Linked DNA regions of Homo sapiens: regions 1, 3 and 4 are each linked to region 2. The links are contacts of gene promoters, found by promoter capture Hi-C in blood cells and fetal thymus (Javierre and others, 2016). All regions are on one chromosome and are shown on one strand. Each heading gives the region's core, a stretch centred on a gene start or on the middle of the fragment in contact. The rest is flanking DNA. Distances are from core to core; before and after follow the strand shown. Region 1 overlaps SLU7 (spliceosome associated SLU7). Region 2 holds the start of FAM114A2 (family with sequence similarity 114 member A2). Region 3 holds the start of FBXO38 (F-box protein 38). Region 4 has its middle 8.8 kb from the start of PTTG1.

Region 1 (2,893 bases), core at 76-2,575, 6.4 Mb before region 2:
ACTTTAAGTTTTAGGGTACATGTGCACAACGTGCAGGTTTGTTACGTATGTATACATGTGCCATGTTGGTGTGCTGCACCCATGAACTCGTCATTTAGCATTAGGTATATCTCCTAATGCTATCTCTCCCCGCTCCCAGGATGCTTGGATATTAAGATGAACCACATACAGTAGATTTAGAGACTTAGCTGTCACTATAGAAATGTATGTAAATGTCTTTGGTGAACTAGCAAATAGTGGGAACTCAAAAAAATTATTTTTTACAAAATATTTATATTTCTAATTTTGAAAGTAACACATATTAAGTGGAAAAAAATTAGAACATAATATAAAAAAGAAAATATCCCTGTGTTAATTGTGAACATTTTGAAGTAGGCCTTTCCAGGTCTCTCTTGTCCACATATACCTGTTCATGTGTGCTAGAATACAAAATGTTTCTTACATGAATCCATCTTTATATATTCATTTATTACCTTCTTTTTTAATTTAACAACATAGAGTACAGTGGGAACGTGTTTTCTGTCTATATTTATAGACCTATAGCATCATTTATTTTTGTATGAATTCACATGGCTCAAAAATTAAAACAATTTAAGAAGATGCACAGCGAAGTCTCTCCACCCCTGTTTCTATCCACCCTAACACTAAACTTCCCCTCGCCCCAACTCTTTTGTGTATGTGTGTGGCTCCTTTCAGACTGTCTTGAATAAATACAAATACAAATATATACCCTTATCCTATCTGTCTCTCCCCTCCCCTTTTTTTAATCAAAAAAGTTAGGAAACGATACATACTTTTCTGCCCCTTGGATAGAATCACTTTTAATGGCCGTTCAGTGTTCCATGGAGTGCAATACATTATATAACCAGTGATCTATTAATTTGATTTTTTCCCAGTGTTTTGAAAAAACATTGCACATATACAACACTGCACATCACATTCTTATACATCTTTATATAATTGACATGATACTAGGATAACCTTCTAGAAGTGTATTTCAGTGAGTTTGTATTTCTAAAATTTTTATGACATATCACTTAGCCATCATTCAGAAAAGCCATGCAGATTTATGCTTCCATCTATATAGTATATATACATACACGTGTTTCTGCATCTCCTCACTAATGCTATAATGTATTCTCTTTTTTTTTAAGTATTTTTAATCTTTGAAGCCTTTATGAAGGGACATGATGAAATACCACGTTAGTGTAGGCATTCTGTGGAGTTAGAAAGTATTCTGACCAATTGCTAGCGAAGAAAAGTGTATCCTTGTGACAAGGAGTTTGGCCTCTCCTTAAATTACAATACTGTGTCACTTGTAGATTTTTTTCATTGCCCAAACTTCACTTTGGCTGTGAAGACATGAACCCAGTAATATTTTCTTTTTGGACTTACTAGGAAACTAGTAACGTTTAATGAATACAGTATGTCTGAAGACTAACACATTTAGAAATTAATATTTATTGGGTACTTTGGACATCTTAATCTTTCTGTTACCATTTTGTGGTTATAATCTTAATTAAAATTCTCTTGAAATTTGCTGGCTTTATAGACAGTGTAATAAAATTATTTACAATGGCACTCTTGTATTCAGAATTTTTGCGCTCATTATAACTGAGAAGTGTGAGAGTTTGTTCAGTTAGAATTAAGTTTTATTATCTTAATACTTATTTATAAGTTACATATTATATATTATATAATAAATATTTATTATATATAATATAAATATAATATATAATAAAATATATTTTATTATATAAATATATTATTTATAATAAGATAATAATACTTTATTATCTTAATAATAAAGTTAATTGGATTAAGTGGAATGAGATTATGAATGATTTTTCTTCTTTCATGATGCAGAATTCTCCAAAACACCAGTGGGGAGAAGAGGAACCAAATTCTCAGATGGTAATACATATTTGCTGTCTCTGAGTATATGTTAAATTTTTAAATTTCTGATGGCTAATAATAAATAACACTAATAATAGCTTTTAAAGAACACAAGTAAATAAGGGTTTGGTTAAAGGGAAAGGGGAAAAAAAAGAACTACATGCTGCTTTCTTTTCTTCTTACTTTTCCTTCCTCTCCCTCTTTTAGGAAAAAGATCATAATAGTGAAGATGAGGATGAAGATAAATATGCAGATGATATTGACATGCCTGGACAGAATTTTGACTCCAAGAGACGAATTACTGTCCGGAATCTCAGGATTCGAGAAGATATTGCAAAAGTAAGTCTTGTCAGCTTAACATACATATTTGAAAAATACTTGTCTTCCCAGCATAAATTTTATCGACTCTGGGTAGCATATGGATAATATAGTCAGAGTCATTCTAAGATAAGGTTTCATTCTGTTTTTTCTCTTCACCTGAACCCCAGAAATGTATACACACATTTATTTAATTGATCATGTTCAACTCCTCCAACTAGTCTGCTGAAATCTTTTTGCTGTGAGTAAACATTAATTCTTTAAATATTTTTTTCTTCTAGTATTTGAGGAATTTAGATCCAAATTCTGCCTACTATGATCCAAAAACTAGAGCAATGAGAGAGAATCCTTATGCCAATGCAGGAAAGAATCCAGATGAGTAAGTATCAAGTTAAATGTACAGATTTTAAGATGAGAGAAAGTTAATTGTTTTCTGACCTGACCATAGATGGTGTTCATTTTAATTCAGATTCAGTTTTACGAATTAATTTTCCTTAAATCAATCTCTGAAACATTTTCTTTATTTGTATTTACAGAGTGAGTTATGCTGGAGATAACTTTGTTAGGTACACAGGAGATACCATTTCAATGGCTCAGACACAGTGTAAGTGTTTCCTCTATGTCAAGCCATTTTATATCAGCTCATAAGACGTTTGGGATTGTTTAAAGCTTGTTTTCA
Region 2 (3,005 bases), core at 69-2,568:
TATTGATAGCTATTATAAACAAAAACCCTTTGAAGTTCTCAATACATTTTAAAAGTATAAAGAAATTCTAAGATCAAAAAGTTTGAGAACTGCTGCTATAATTATCAGCAGCATTTAAAAAATAAGTGGCTTCCCAAGATTCCATACTTTAGCCCCAAATTCTATGCATTTTCCATTACAACAGAAAATCAGAGGAAATGATCCATTTTATATTTAAGCAGGGGTTTTTTTGTTGTTGTTTTTTGGAATTTTAACAAGCTTCCAGGTGATATTGATGAACCTAAATTTAGAGAACCACTGTCAAAAGCAAAGGAAAATATCTGAAGAGTTTTAGAAGTGACAATTACTCTTATCTGGGAATTAAGATGATAATTCCGAGGGCATTAAATGGAGTTGGAAAACATGAGTTCTTAAAGGCTAAGTCCCTTCACCTCTCTGGGATTCAGTTTTTCTTATCTGTACAATAAGATTGATTTTAATATTTTACTAGCTCTGTCAGTCTGGATTTCATGCATTTTCACTGCTCGAGGGCAACAGAAGAGTTGCATCTTTCTGATGAGGTCCCAGGAGTAATCTTAGAGTCATAAATCAGATCATGTCATTCATCTGCTTAGAAACCTTCAATGGTTTTCCACTGGATTCCAAACAAAAATCAAACTCTTTATCCTTGCTCATAAGCCTTACAAGATTTGGGCTCAAGTCCCTGGCCTCATCTCTCTCCATTCTCACCTTGCTCCTTTTGCTCTAGCCAGTGGCCTTTGTCTTTTCCTTGACTTTGCTAAGTTTGTTCCCACTATATGGCCTTTGCACGCGCTATTCTCTCTGCCTGGAATGCTCTATTCCAGATTTTCATACGGCTTATTACTCTCCCACTTCGTTCCATCACATTATCCAGTCTAAATTTCTTTACAGCACTTACTACCACCTTAGATAATCCCGTTTGTTGACTTGTTTATAATCTGCTTTTCGCACTGCTTGAGAGCAGGGCCCTTCCGTTCGTTGACTGATGTGTCCCTGGAGCCCAGGGCAGTGCCTGGCAGGTATCTGGCTCTCAGTAAGTGTTCGATGACCGAACTCCCACACCCAGGCCAGACTTTCAAAAGAATGGCAAACATTTTCGCCTCCTGCACTCCCGACCCCAAGCCACAGGCTACGACTCACGCCTCGGCGCTCCTAGTAGTCCCCTCGCAGCGACCCCAACCAAGCCGTCACCTACCCGACCGCCGTCTAGCTCCTTCCGGCCTCAGCGGCGGCTTAACTCGGAAGTTTTCTCGGACACACCGGCACGCCTCTGCGCTGAAGGAGCACTTCCGGGGCAGTAGGAACGCCGAGTCGGCTGCCGTGGCTGTGCTGAGGGTGGCGGCCGGATAGGTGCGGAGCTTCCTGAACGAGGCAGGAGGGGTGCGAGGTTCAGGGGCAGGGCCCGGGCAGCCGAAGTCGTTAGGGAGGCGGTGACCTGACGGTGGGCGGCGGACATCTCGCGGCAGGGTCGAGGGCTGTGAAAGCGGTTTAGTGATTGAAGCGCTACGTTTGTGTGAGGAATTCTTGTCGTTGTCAGCGCCTGAGAACTTAGTTGGGAGCGGACGTTTACGTCGAATCTCTCGTTTGGGACCCCATTCTTGAATGTGGGAAGAAGTGAGAGCGCATGTTTGCTCATCTAGAGACAGCCGTATTAATAACGATAGGATACAAACCATCACCCCACCAAGTGATAGCAGCTGTTAACCTGTGGGCGGTTACGTGCCGGTCACTGTTCCAAGCCCCTCACATATCGCGTCACTGAATCTTTATAGGGACCCAGAACTCCATTTGACAGATGAGGAAACGGAGAGGCAGACAGGTGACCTGACTTCCCCACAATCGCTGCAGGACAGGAAGAAAGTAAACTCCAGAGCCCGTGCTCTTAGCTACTAAGCTGTACTGCTCTTCATTTTGGTAAATGGGGCGGGTGGAGTGTATATATACGTAATATATATGTGTGTGTGTAAGCGTATGCGTTTTTATTTCTTAAAAATATGGCTCAGCCGTATTTATTTACAGTTATTGGAATCTTTCTCCTCCAACTGAGAAAATAACTGGAGGAGAAACTACAATTATTTCTACACGCTTACTACACAATGCCTGGAAGACTTACAAAAACACTAAATAGTGCAGTTCCACGTACTTGGTGTTTATTCCTTTTTTTTTTTTAACCTTTCTCCTAGATTATGAATGAGTTGAGGAAAGAGATGGTACAGTCATTCTAATAACGATAGTAATGATAATATAAACAACCATCACCATAAAAAATTCTCTTCTGGCTTAGCTCAAATATCTGGCACAAATGAAAGAATAGAGATAACCAGTGTTTAATATTTTAGTAAAGGGACTGTTTTGGCAGGGCATGGTGGCTCACGCCTGTAATTTTAGCACTTTGGGAGGCTGAGGCAGGGGAAGATTGCTTGAGGCCAGGCCTAGGGTTCAAGACCAACCTGGCCAACATAGCGAGACCCTGTCTTTAAAAATATATTTTGGAGTATGTCCTTCCAGTCTTTCATGGAATTATATGAATTTATGTAATATGTATATTATATATTCTACATATAGTATACTGTATATATTTATGATGATGATAATGATGCGTTGCAACCTGGAGAGAGCATAAGGAAAAGATAGGAAACATTTATTCATATACACAAAACATTAATTGAACTTTGTGCAAAAACTGTCTCGTCTTTCCTATTAGATAGGCCCTTGGAGTGAATGGCTTACATTAGTTCTCTATCTCCACAGGTACTGTGGTACTACTTGGTACGTAGTAGGTACTCAAAAAATGTTTGCGAGTGAATGAATGGCTACTTCTAAGTTGGTTTGTATGTCAGTGAGTAGTTGTATCTGGATTTTTTCTCTATGTGTTTTGGAAATGTGTAATGTGTTTATATTATATGCCCATATATTCTGAACTCCATAGTGTTGTCTTAATCTACCTTTCTAGCTTCATGCCTTCCCATTGTTCTTCTCTCTGC
Region 3 (2,839 bases), core at 153-2,652, 5.7 Mb after region 2:
CTTTTTCTCCTCTGCTATGCATTAGTATCTGTTTGACTAAATATAAAGTGTGTACCTCTGGGCACACAGCCATTTAAACAAAGAGGCACACAAAACTCTACATTCTTTACCCAAGGAGGACATCAGAATTACAGCATCACATATTTTAAAGAGGGGAAAGAAGGCTTACAGATAATCTAAAATGTTAATTCTCAAAATGAAAGTTAAAAATTACAAGCGGATTTTTTTCAGTCTATGCCTATGTAATACATACCCTCCAGACTGGACCTCCTCCTTCCCTGGGAAAATCATGGCTTTATAGAACTATTATTTTATCCTTCACTTGTGCTGGGGGAATGGGAAAGGGGATTAAAAACCAGTGACCTAATCCAACGTCTTCCTTTAGCAGATAAAAAAATCTCAAGTTCAGAGAGAGGAAGGGATTTGGCCAAAGTAAACCATCAAGTTAATAGCAACTTTGGAACAAAAATCAAGGTCTCCTGTTTTTCACTTTGTAGTGATTTACACTGCTGGTTTAGGTGTATAAAACAAAGTTTTCTGGACAGAGCTTCTCATTGCACAGGAACCTTCCTAAGTGACCAGTTGCCCTTGGCCAGCTTGGTGTCTGCAAAGAAACACGGTAGACATCTCTTAGTCAAATTCTGGGTGTGCAGAGTGCAGGGAGAATATGCTTTTCAGGTCTGTAAAGACTCCATGAAAAGGGAGTTAAGAATCTGATTTCCACAGCTAGGGCACGGACATCAAAGGCATCCAACACAGATAAGCAAACTGCAGCACAGAAAAGCTAATGGACCTAGACAAGGTCACACGGTGTGTAGGTGGAAGGGGTGAAACTAGAATTCAGGGCTCCTGATACTCAGGCGTGGCAGCCAAAGATGTGTTCACTGCTTCCTGCTCAGGGACATCTCCTCACTACGCTGAACACAGACCTCCTTCACTTTACTGGCCGAAACACCGACTTAACATTAAAATCATGAAATTCGTGACGCCCGGGGTGGGAGACAGTCACAGAAGCTGTCCAGTCCAACACCCTCACCCATTTCATTGAGGAAACTGGGGCCCAGAGAGAGTTCTTTATGCTGGATTTTGGGGCCAGGTTCAGACAAGCAGGCAACCCCCGCAAGCACGGCCTAGAAGGCCAGGAACTACAAATTCAACCCCTGATCTCTCAAGGAGCTCTAGGCCCCAAGGGGGCCAGAGGCCGAGCTTAAGCGGTCGGAAGTTCCAGAATCCCCACCCAGCTACCTCAGCCCTGCCGCACGCACTCCGGGCTTTGCCACCCCGCTCCCGGTCCCCAGGCCCACTCAGCCGCCGCCTCACCTACGCCGACCCTCCGCCTGTTATTGTGGTTGAGAGGGAGGGACGCTACAGACACTTCCCCGGCCCCTACCGCTGAGGCACTTCCGCTTCCGCCGCCGCTCGCATATTTCCGGAGTGTTGTCATCCGGGGCTGGAGCCTCAAACCCGTGTCCATATTGTGTGTGTGAAGAAGCATCGAAGCGCGGCAGCCATGTTCAGCGTGGCATTTCGGAAGGCTTGTCAGGGGTGGAGAAGCGGGGCGGGTTGCTGTTCTTTCACCTGACACTAAAGCGCCATGCCGGAAGCACTGAGTCTGATACGTCGGAACCAGTCTCCACCGTGTGGTTTGGTCTTGATTTCCACTGGTACTCTGGGGTCTTGGATAAGTCTCTGGACCTCGCCTTTGTCATTTGCGAAGTCGATAGGTTCCAATAGAGATTTTCCCAGAATCATTCAACTAAAAATAGAGAACTTTTTTTTTTTGAGAGGAAGGACGGGGGCGCAGTTAAAGATGTTAATGTTAAGTCATCCCTTCTGTGATTTCGGGACATTATCTTTGCACGTAAGTAATAGTATTTTACAGTCCAAAGGAATTTCACATGAGTGTCATTAAAAACTCTACACGACTCTGACATGTAGGCAAGGATCAACTTAATCACCTTTTCTGTTGTTTAATGGATAAGGAATTGTCTTCAGAGAGTGTAATTGATTTTCACAATGTCTCGCAGATGGACTGAAATTCAGATTTTTACCTTTTACATCCTGTGTTCTTGCCCTAATATACATGTAATTAATATGGGCTAAAATCCCTAGATTTAAATAGATACAAATACTTCTTAGGAAAGTTAGTGTGCATTAAAGCCATGTGAGACACAATTTGACAAGACGTAGCATTGACTAGGCTATTCTGCTGGAGAAGAAAAAGCTGAAGAAGGCTTGGGAATCCCATTTCTTCTTATTCTTTTCTTGATTGATAGCAGACCTACTGGTTTTTCCCCTCTTTCCCCAATATGGTTCGGCACCTTAGGTTTCAGCTTGTCTTAGGCAGTCACAGTTTTAGCTATCCCATTCCGTATGTCAAACCATATATCTGTGTTTTTATTTGGAGCTCTGGTAGGACAAACAAAACAAAACCTCATCATATTCATGTACTATTCATTGTAATCTCAGCTTTCATGTTACATTCTTCCTGTAATTGAAGACAAAAATGAATTTTTATGCTATTTGCTTCTGTCGGTTTCTTCATATTCAAACTTTAATAAAGGAAACAGACTTTAGCTTTTTCTGTTTCCCAGGTTATTCTGAAGAATAAATAGGAATTACGAAAGTTTCTAGTGCAGGGCATGGCATATTTAGAAGGCATTCAGTAAGATTTATTTCAGCACAATTGGCCTGAATTTTTAATTCAATGGAATATGATTTTCATTTTATTAGCATTCCTCCTTTTGTAAAAAGCACTGTAGTGGGACCTGAAATGAATACTCATGAGTAAGAAAGGTTTCCTACCTCAAGTTTAGAAAATTTCCTACCACAAATCATT
Region 4 (3,181 bases), core at 590-3,089, 6.4 Mb before region 2:
GTTTGGCCAGGTGAATCAGGACAGGAAATTACACCCCCAAGGAGCCACCACAAGGCCGTGTGAGCCACACTGAGCAACTCAGACTTCATCCTGGTGGCAGAGGGACATCATTCCAAAGTAAATGAAGTGGGGAATGAGTGCTTGATGAGCATGGGTTTATTTTTGGGGGTGATGAAAGTGTTCTGAAATTAGACAGTGGTGATAGTTGCATATACTCTGAACTAAAAGCCACTGAATTGTACATTTTTAAATGAATTTTCTTATGTGAATGTTACCTCAAAAAAAAAAAAAAGGCCGGGCATGGTGGCTCACGCCTGTAATCCAAGCACTTTGGGAGGCCAAGGCCGGCAGATCACGAGGTCAGGAGATCGAGACCATCCTGGCGAACACGGTGAAACCCTGTCTCTACTAAAAATACAAAAAAAAAAAAAATTAGCTGGGCGTGGTGGTGGGCGCCTGTAGTCCCAGCTACTCGGGAGGCTGAGGCAGGAGAATGGCATGAACCCGGGAGGTGGAGTTTGCAGTGAGCCAAGATTGCACCACTGCACTCCAGCCTGGGCGACAGAGCAAGACTCCGTCTCAAAAAAGAAAAAAAATGAAAGGAATATCTAGAAGGAACTTTCAATTCCAATCAAGATGGAGTAACAGGGACCAGATTTACTCTCCTGCCTGAAACTAAAAAACAAGACAAAATATATGAAATGAGGGCTGCCCAAAGAGTGAACATCAGGCGACAGAGAACAGCGATGCCTGAGGAATGTGAAATAAGTGAGGTGAGGCCGATGACTATCCTTACTGGCTACTTTTGAGTTTCCAGGCCTCAGAGTGGGGAAGAAAGGGAGGCAGGCAGAGCCCAGTGAATTTCCTGAGTTGAAGAGACAGAGCAGAGTCAGGCCAAGGCAGGCCAAGTTTGCAGAGCAGAGCACTGGAGAGGAGAGAGCTGCACAGAGAGAACCCTGGAAATTTGCAGAGGGTCTCCCTGTAGTATTCAGAAGAGCACTGATCCATATAGCTGAAAAGATCAGAGGGAAGAATTCCTGAAGCCCACACAGGGCTGGGAATAGTGTCTGCTCCCACCAGCTAGACAGGAAAACCTCATAATTCAGGGGGCAGCAGAGTCCTAAGCATCTCACACTTCAGTAGTAGGGGGAAATGAGCCCTGGGCTAAATGCTGCTCTGGTGATGCCTAACATTAAAGGCAAGTCTCAAATGAATCAAATTGCTTCTAGGTACCTTACCCATACTCTAGAACAAAGTTTAAGAATATTAATAGAAATGTAAAAATACCCAGCATGAAAAAAGGTAAAATCCATGGCTGGCATGGAAAGTAGAAAAATACAACTTGTAATAAGAAAGAAGAAATGGTAGCAAGATAATGGCATTCCTGACTGTTAGCTCCTACTATAAGAAGGTACAGTATCCTGAGAGGCAGGCTCAGAGGTAGTGTAGAGAAATGCAGAAGGTTTACAGAGTTGTAAAGGTATGAATAAAGTCTGTCTTATTTCAAAAAGTGTCAGAACAAAATAGCAACAACCCCCACAAGATGCAAATTATCTGTATTAATGGAGGAGCATCTGCTTAAAGTTCTCAGTCTCAGCACACATTATGCACATTGCAATCTGATTAACAGCAGATGAAAAGATCAGATCCCTCTATACTCAGTTCTGACCCAGAGGACGGCAATTAACTGGTAAGGGACTGACTAGTCCCCTTGCTCCCAGCCCTTGGTTCCCTCTACCACAAAAGACAATTTTCCAAAGCTTCAGTTTGTGTTGCAGAGTATGAAAGCCATTCAGAACTACACTTTGCTTTTTTTGTTGTTTTTGTGAGACAGCATCTCACTCTACCACCCAGGCTACTCTACCACCCACTTTACCACCCAGTGGCATGACTATAGCCACTCAAGTTGTAAGCTTGAACTCCTGGGCTCAAGCAATCCTCCTGCCTCAACCTCCTGAAACTAGGACTACAGGCATGCGCCACCACACCCGGCTAATTATTTTTAATTTTTGAGAGACAAGGGTCTCACTACATGGCCCAGGTTGAACCCAAGCTCCTGGGATCAAGCAGTCCTCCCACCTCAAACTCTCAAGTGCTGGGATTACTGGTGTGAGCCACTGTGTCCAACCTATACTTTGGTTTTCTTAGCAGCCCTATTTTACCTGAGGATGCTAAACCTATTACTCTCCCCTAAAGCCAAGTGCCCTAGTAGTCTTATGGTATTATCTTCTCCTAGAAGTCTGCCTTTCCACTAATTCCAGAAAGTCACACTGATTCAGTTGTATTTAGAAGGTAAAAAGTTTTAAAGTCAGGATAAGCGGTTGTAGGTGTTCTTAGTATTTCATGCCTAATATCCTTCAGCTTCCTCCAATGACAATGGCAAAGTGTTCACATTCTAACTTGACCATAGAAGCTACTGATATATCAAGGGAAAGACTTCTTATATAACTTAGCATCAAGCAAGGGTCAAATTCAGGTTACTACATGGCCCAAGCGAGTAAAGTGAGTTAAGTAGGCTAGGTCTCAGAAGAGACATGAAAGGTAAAAGGATCACTTCAGTTCTCACTGAGGCCATTTAAGGCAGGGTCTGTGGGATAGAAAGCCTATACTCCACCTAAAAGGCAGCAGCCTGCAATCTACCTCCAGCCCCAGCAAGTGTTGGAAACAGGGTCTACTATGGACACATCTCTTTTCAAGAGAATCTCCAAAGCCAGATTGGTGAAACACTGGAATTTTAAATAGTGGAAATGATTAAGGTTTTTAAAATATCCACCCCCTCCCTCAAAAAGAAAACCTATGAGCAACCATTTGCCATCTCTATTTTGATTCCAACCTCAGAACTGAGATCAAAATACCAGCTCTAATAATTTTCTAGCTCTTCACATCTTTGACAAATCAATGAACTTCTGCGCTTCATTGTCTTACCTGGGAAAGTGTCAAACATTAAACATAATAATGCTTCTCAAATACTCATGTCCAACACAAGGTAAACAACTAAATACAGTTTCCTATAGGTGGAGTGTAGACCTTACTATCAGTAAATTATCTCCAGTGATCTTTAAGGAATCTAATTGAAGATCCCAAGGAGGCTGAATTCTCAGATTTAGAGCCTTTCAATACTGAGTATTAAAGTCATTAGAAACTAAGTAGAACCGGCAATAAAGAATGCCCAGCAATAGAT

Evidence for each region. The method cuts DNA at HindIII sites, captures the fragments that hold promoters and counts their contacts. A CHiCAGO score of 5 or more calls a contact.
Region 1: a contact is called between a fragment that was not itself captured here and the fragment with the promoter of FAM114A2 in region 2, in 1 of 17 cell types (total CD8 T cells). The highest score is 5.6, in total CD8 T cells.
Region 3: a contact is called between the fragment with the promoter of FBXO38 here and the fragment with the promoter of FAM114A2 in region 2, in 1 of 17 cell types (naive CD8 T cells). The highest score is 5.7, in naive CD8 T cells.
Region 4: a fragment that was not itself captured here is called in contact with the fragment with the promoter of FAM114A2 in region 2 in 1 of 17 cell types (non-activated CD4 T cells); the score reaches 5.1 in non-activated CD4 T cells.

What each region holds. Positions count from the first base shown.
Region 1 is chr5:160,407,671-160,410,563 of GRCh38, reverse strand. It overlaps SLU7 (spliceosome associated SLU7), which reads left to right. Exons shown (of 16, transcript NM_006425.5): 7 at 1,867-1,914; 8 at 2,104-2,235; 9 at 2,496-2,593; 10 at 2,751-2,818. Among named protein-coding and RNA genes, the nearest start is that of FAM200C, 9.1 kb to the right of the region's middle. The HindIII fragment of the contact is 3,120 bases long and covers 1-2,885 here.
Region 2 is chr5:154,037,223-154,040,227 of GRCh38, reverse strand. It overlaps FAM114A2 (family with sequence similarity 114 member A2), which reads left to right and starts at 1,318. Exons shown (of 14, transcript NM_018691.4): 1 at 1,318-1,371. It overlaps MFAP3 (microfibril associated protein 3), which reads right to left and starts at 1,261. Exons shown (of 3, transcript NM_005927.5): 1 at 1,217-1,261. The HindIII fragment of the contact is 2,878 bases long and covers 261-3,005 here.
Region 3 is chr5:148,382,521-148,385,359 of GRCh38, reverse strand. FBXO38 (F-box protein 38) reads right to left here and starts at 1,402. Exons shown (of 22, transcript NM_205836.3): 1 at 1,321-1,402. FBXO38-DT (FBXO38 divergent transcript) reads left to right here and starts at 1,510. Exons shown (of 5, transcript NR_105057.1): 1 at 1,510-1,861. RefSeq lists an enhancer at 1,426-1,625. The HindIII fragment of the contact is 17,680 bases long and covers 1-2,839 here.
Region 4 is chr5:160,429,019-160,432,199 of GRCh38, reverse strand. No RefSeq gene overlaps it. Among named protein-coding and RNA genes, the nearest start is that of PTTG1, 8.8 kb to the right of the region's middle. The HindIII fragment of the contact is 153 bases long and covers 1,763-1,915 here.